Linked DNA regions of Homo sapiens: region 2 is linked to region 1. The links are contacts of gene promoters, found by promoter capture Hi-C in human tissues and cell types (Jung and others, 2019). All regions are on one chromosome and are shown on one strand. Each heading gives the region's core, a stretch centred on a gene start or on the middle of the fragment in contact. The rest is flanking DNA. Distances are from core to core; before and after follow the strand shown.

The links. Contacts are between HindIII fragments. The study calls those that stand out against the background at their distance.
Region 2: a contact is called between a fragment that was not itself captured here and the fragment with the promoter of ABCA12 in region 1, in 1 of the 25 tissues and cell types used here (spleen).

Annotation. Positions count from the first base shown.
Region 1 is chr2:215,137,038-215,140,076 of GRCh38, forward strand. It overlaps ABCA12 (ATP binding cassette subfamily A member 12), which reads right to left and starts at 1,589. Exons shown (of 53, transcript NM_173076.3): 1 at 1,103-1,589. The coding sequence starts at 1,171. The HindIII fragment of the contact is 12,690 bases long and covers 1-3,039 here.
Region 2 is chr2:215,094,343-215,097,381 of GRCh38, forward strand. The region is part of intron 2 of ABCA12 (ATP binding cassette subfamily A member 12); the gene reads right to left. Among named protein-coding and RNA genes, the nearest start is that of ABCA12, 43 kb to the right of the region's middle. The HindIII fragment of the contact is 3,163 bases long and covers 1-3,039 here.

The DNA.
Region 1 (3,039 bases), core at 339-2,838:
TTTTTTTTTTCCAGTTAAAAAACAAATAAAAACATGAATGAGTTTATAATTTTATATTCAAACCCCACACCCATGCAATCACATGCCTTAGAATTTTAAAACCCTACCCACAAAATTCACAAGGGTAAATGAACATCTACTTCCTCCTCTTACTACACACATCAAAACACTCAAGTAAAGTGTCAGGCAATCCAAGCAAGCCTGGAGCGAGATAAGGTGCATAGATAAAGTGCTGGTTTCTGTGTGATGCATATTATTTGCATAATATTTACATTACTCATTCAAGGCTGGGAATTACCACTTTAAAATAAAGTATATTGAATACCTTTTTGGATTTCCCCGATTTTCAAACATTCTTCTGAATATATAACAACTCCCAGAAACCAATTCCTTTCTCAATCATCCTGGGAGCCATCTGATGAGGATCTAATAGCTAACTTTGTAATTAGAACGCAAACATTAATGTAAGAGTACAAAAAAGACGTTGCAATGAGCAAGAGAAGATAGATTGTAGTAGTAAAGCTAAGTGATTCAATAATATTCTTAAAACATAGCACATATACATACTCTTGTTTGGTATTCCCAGTAAATGATTTTTAGATACTAAAATTTCTCAGTAGCTTTTCTATACTAATAGCCTTCAAACTATTTCTGTTCTGTATTTTACCTTTCAACCAAACTTTCTATGGCTTTCAGTTTTCCAGTATATTTCTTCCCATTTATTGTACATTTCAAATAATACTTTTCTTTCCTCTATCCCATTTTTAACTACATTAAGAAAAATTCTGAAAGCCTTTTGGCTTGAAACCAGAATTCAACGTTCCAGTTCAGCCAGTAATGAGTCATGTTCTTTTTTTTTTGCCCAGGGCATGTCCTGGTTTACTCTTTAATTTACTGAAATGAAAAGGCTGCTTTTGGGGGCATGTTAAGACTCGCTCCATTAGCTATAAGACAGATAGGGGGATGAATTCTAAATATCTTACTTCCTGCTTTGGAAAATGCCTTTAAACTCTTCTGTTTTCACTTCTCATTAAGATCACATTTTAGGATTACCTGGCGTATTGCCCCATGACCCATACTCCCACACTTTTTTTTAACTCACCGGCTGCCTTTTTACACCTAGCCAATTTTTCCAGACCAGGATCTGAAGCTGATGAAACAGGGAAGCCATCCTTCAAATGCCCCAAATGAGAGATTTCCTCTTCTTTTCTCCACTCCACAAATGAAGAACTGATGCCCCGTCCAACTTGCTGTATGTCAGTGTATCAGTACCCCTTTCACGGCATAGCTTCCTTGAGGGCTGGGGTAAGAAACCCACAGTTCTTCTGTTTCTGCTGGATTTTTCCCTGTGGTTAATCCTTAACCAAGAGGCACTTCTCAATCAACTCTTCTTCCAAAAGAAGGACCCAGATCAGTATCTTTGGGTGGCTTATGCTTATTTTAAAATAATATCCAGTTGCTGCTTGTTGCACGAAGTCCAGACTCAAGAGAGAATGAGCATCATTCAGATAATGCCTCACTGAAAAAAAAAAAAAAGCAGCAGCTGAACCCACACCTCCTACTCTCCATGAAATTAATTGCCTATCCACACCTTAGAGAACATGTCACCTGCACTGGATGCGTCACAGGGACTAGGGGGTGGGACCTTTGCAAGGCCAGTAGGACTTGTCCTACATTCTCTTGTCTTCTTTCCTGCACACAGTGTCTGCTCTAGCAGAGGCAGGGCACAGAGAGCATTTCACAGACACTGGGCCCAGTGACTCTTTAATATTAAAGTGTCATTAAAATGATTTAAGTCAATAAGGCCAGAGCTTAGCTGCAAAGCTCTGAGCCTCAGCCCATCATTAGATATACTAGGGAAAGTGTCCACCTTTAACCTAAAGTTGAATGTTTCGATTTTGGGGGAAGAAACTATGTTGGCCAGGTCCCACCTTTCATCACAATGTACTAGGTTAAGCACAGGGCAGAAAAGGAAAGGTAGGCTGTAGGGGACATAAATTACAAACTGGAGTCCCTCAATTCGTGAGTGGAGATTCACGTGTCTATTACAGACAAGCCACATTGTTTCAGGCTCTTATAGTGAAAGGGGACACAGGCTGATCCAAGACATTTCTATTTCCTCTTTCCATGATACATTCCTCCCTCTCTAAGATCCTGCCTTTCAAAGTTATCCCCAAGTTGACATCTTCAATGAAGCCTTTTTGGATATATCCCATAGGATAGATTCTCTTGCCTTTGAATCATTCTTTGTTGCCCTCTCTCAAGGAACTTAAAGTTTTTGCATTATTTTTATTTGTGTATGTCTTATTTTTCCTACAAGATTATAAATTATTTGAGGACATGGACTATTTTATATCACAGTACTTTACATATCATTAGTGTTCAATACTTGCTGCTGAATGTAATTGAATAAACTACTGGAGCCAAGGCTAGTAGGGTGAAGCTCCCCTTTGATCCTCACACCTACCCTGACTAATCCAGACTTTACTTGCAAAATCCGTTAAAGCATTAAGAGTTCTCCCTTCGCCAGGTGCGGTGGCTCATGCCTGTAATCCCAGCAATTTGGGAGGCCGAGACGGGCTGATCACTTGAGGTCAGGAGTTCAAGACCAGCCTCGCAAACATGGTGAAACCCCGTCTCTACTAAAAACACAAAAATTAGCCAGGCATGGTGGTGGGCACCTGTAATCCCAGCTATTTGGGAGGCTGAGGAGGGAGAATCGCTTGAAACCGGGAGGCAGAGGTTGCAGTGAGCTGAGATGGCGCCACTGCACTCCAGCCTGGGCAAAAGAGTGAGATTCCATCCCCCCTCCAAAAAAAGGAATCTAGCACAGGTCCTGCCTCATAGTAAGTAGTCAATTAATTCTATTAATTGGGTAGCAATGTTTGCTAAGGACTTATTGAATCATCCTAGGAGTCCTATTATATAGAAACTGTCATTATTCCCATTTTCAGTGAAAGAAAGTGATATTTAGAAGTGCCATAACTTGCTGGATTTCACCTAGTTAGCAGTGAGGACAGTGGGAACAGCAGAGAAGGA
Region 2 (3,039 bases), core at 281-2,780, 43 kb before region 1:
TAAGGTAGCTAAAGAAGCAGCTAGCGTTCCAACTTCTGTCCCTCATGGCCAGTTTTTCTGCTTCTCATCAGTCACTCCTACTTGCTCTCCCACTGAAGTTGTCCACCTATCAATCCCTTCCCACTCAAGGCAAATGGTTCTTAGACTAAGGAAAATACCTCCTTCCAGCCTCACAGGCTCATTCCATTCTATCGTCGTTTCACAACCTCTTCTATGTAGGTCACAAGCCACTAGCCTGCCTCTTAGAACCTCTCATTTCCTTTAAGACGTTTGCCCTGCATTTCACTCCATCCTTAGCTACCTTCCCCTTGTTCTTCAGACTCTCCTCCTAGCCCCTCCTCTTGCTTGCTTATACTCAGCCCCATGAATAGCAGTGAAAGGTTACTCATAGACACTATGTGCTTTCTAATACACCATAAAAATCGAACCGCCCCCTCTACCCAGTTGCCCCATCAATCCCCATTACAACCTCTAACAGCTGCTGCCCTCGCTAAATCCCTAAGAGTCTGAGTGCAAGACATCATCTCTTTTGGTGCTCCCTCTCATCTTTTCACTTTACAGTTCCAGTTTTGCCTTACATAGTTCTCTTCTTCCTCTGTGGCTTCTCCACCTACATGTGTCTACCTATCAATGGGACAGGCACATGTATGCTAGTTTTCCTTATCCCCAAAAATCAATTTGCAAATAGGACCGAACAGTGCCCTGTCCCCCTCATGACAGCAACACTTCACTACTATTTTGTTTTGTTTTGTTTTGTTTATTATGAATACAAGACGACAGGAATAGGCCTTGACTTACTCATTGCTGAAAAAGGAAGACTCTACATTTTTAAATGAAGAGTGTTGTTTTTACCTAAATCAATCTGGCCTAGTATATAACAACATAAAAAAACTCAAAGATAGAGCCCAAAAACTCACCAACCAAGCAAGTAATTACACCAAACCCCCTTGGGCACTCTCTAATTGGATGTCCTGGGTCCTCCCAATTCTTAGTCCTTTAAAACCTGTTTTTCTCCTTCTCTTATTCGGACCTTGTGTCTTCCATTTAGTTTCCCAATTCATACAGAACCGCATCCAGGCCACATCAATCATTCTATACGACAAATGCTCCTTCTAACAAACCCACAATATCACCTCTTACCCCAAAATCTTTCTTCAGTTTAATCTCTCCCATTCTAGGTTCCCACACCTCCCCTAATCCTGCTCGAAGCAGCCCTGAGAGACATCACGCATTATCTCTCCATACCACCCCCAAAAATTTTTGCCATCCCAACACTTCACCTCTATTTTGTTTTGTTTTTCCTATTAATATAAGAAGACAGGAATGTCAGGCCTCTGAGCCCAAGCCTGCACATATACATCCAGATGGCCTGAGGCAACTGAAGAACCACAAAAGAAGTGAAAATGACCGGTTCCTGCCTTAACTGATGACATTACCTTGTGAAATTTCTTCTCCTAGCTCAAAAGCTGTCCCACTGAGCACCTTGTGACCACACCCCTGCCTGCAAAAGAACAACCCCCTTTGACTGTAATTTTCCACTACCTACCCAAATCCTATAAAACTGCCCCACCCCTATCTTCCTTTGCTGACTCCTTTTTCAGACTCAGTCTGCCTGCACCCAGGTGATTAAAAGCTTTATTGCTCACACAAAGCATGTTTGGTGGTCTCTTCACACGGACGTGCATAACAATATGTATAACAAATACACCAGAAGACCTGGGTTCAAGTAGGAAGCTCTGCCGTTTACCAGCTGTTTAATCTTGGGCAAGTTACCTACTCATAGTAATCTTTTATTGAGCCCTTACTATATGCATCTATAGACTGCAGGCATCCTTTTGTGTGATACCACAAATTATCTTATTACATGCTATCTTATTAGTTTTATTCTTATTTTACTCCCCAACAATGCTATGAAGTAGGTTCTTTGATTATCCCCAACTGAGGCACAGAAGAATTAACTTCCCAATGACACAAAGGTGAAGCTGAGATTTGAATTGAGTACCCTGATCAAAGGCCCAGGGGTTTGATCATTAGGCTCTACTTGCTTCTCTAAGAGTTTTGATTTTTCTCATCTGGAAATGGAAATCACAGTAATTAATCTCTCAGGTTTGGTACAAGAATTGAAAGATAAGTTACATGAAAGAAGTCATTATTGTCACTATTCTGTTTTCTCAGACTCCCAAATCAAAAGCCAGAAGAGTGTTTTTATTTCAAACCATTCCTTTGTCCCCCAAATCCAGTCTCTACCATATTCTACTACTTCCTCTTCCCAGTATCTTTAAGACTTACTCATTCTTCTCCATTTTTGTTTCTCCAATTACATTAGAGTACCCACTACTTTTTATATTATAATTTCAATAACTGTGTAATTCTTTTTCTTTCTCCAGCCTTTCCTTGCCCTGATCTAGTCTTCTGACACTATCTGATTAATATGCACAAAACTCCATATTTTTATTGCCATGGGTCATTCTTCATTGCTTATGGAATAAAGATATTCCTATATCTTCACCCTGGTATTTATGACTCCGGGTCTCTTGGTCTAATTTTATAGATTCAAACTCATTTCCCAGTAGAATCTAATGGAATTTAGGAAAAAGGGGGCATTTCCTTAACTGTTAAGTATCTGATACGCTAGGCACTGCTTGTATTTGTGGGAAAAACAGACTTAGGTATAGATCCTATGAAGGGAAGACCAGAGGCACAAACATCAAATAAATGCATACTTAGTCAATTACAATTATAAAGGAGGGCTGGTGTAGGAGTGAAAACTAACCTGGTATAGAGGTTCAGAGAAAGTTCCCTGAAGCAAAATAAGCCCTTTACCCCCACCTTCACGAAATTGTTCATTCTCTTCCTTTCCTTACAAAACTCCCCACTCTTCTCCATGCAAATCCAAGTATCCTATTAGTTTTTTTTTGAGGACATAGCTTAAGTCTTATTTATGCTATTAAGCTTTACCTTACTTCTCTAGCCTCCAAAAATCTTTTTTTTTCTAAAAAATCTTAGTGCATTGATGGTTCTTTGTTCCTGCTATCACAC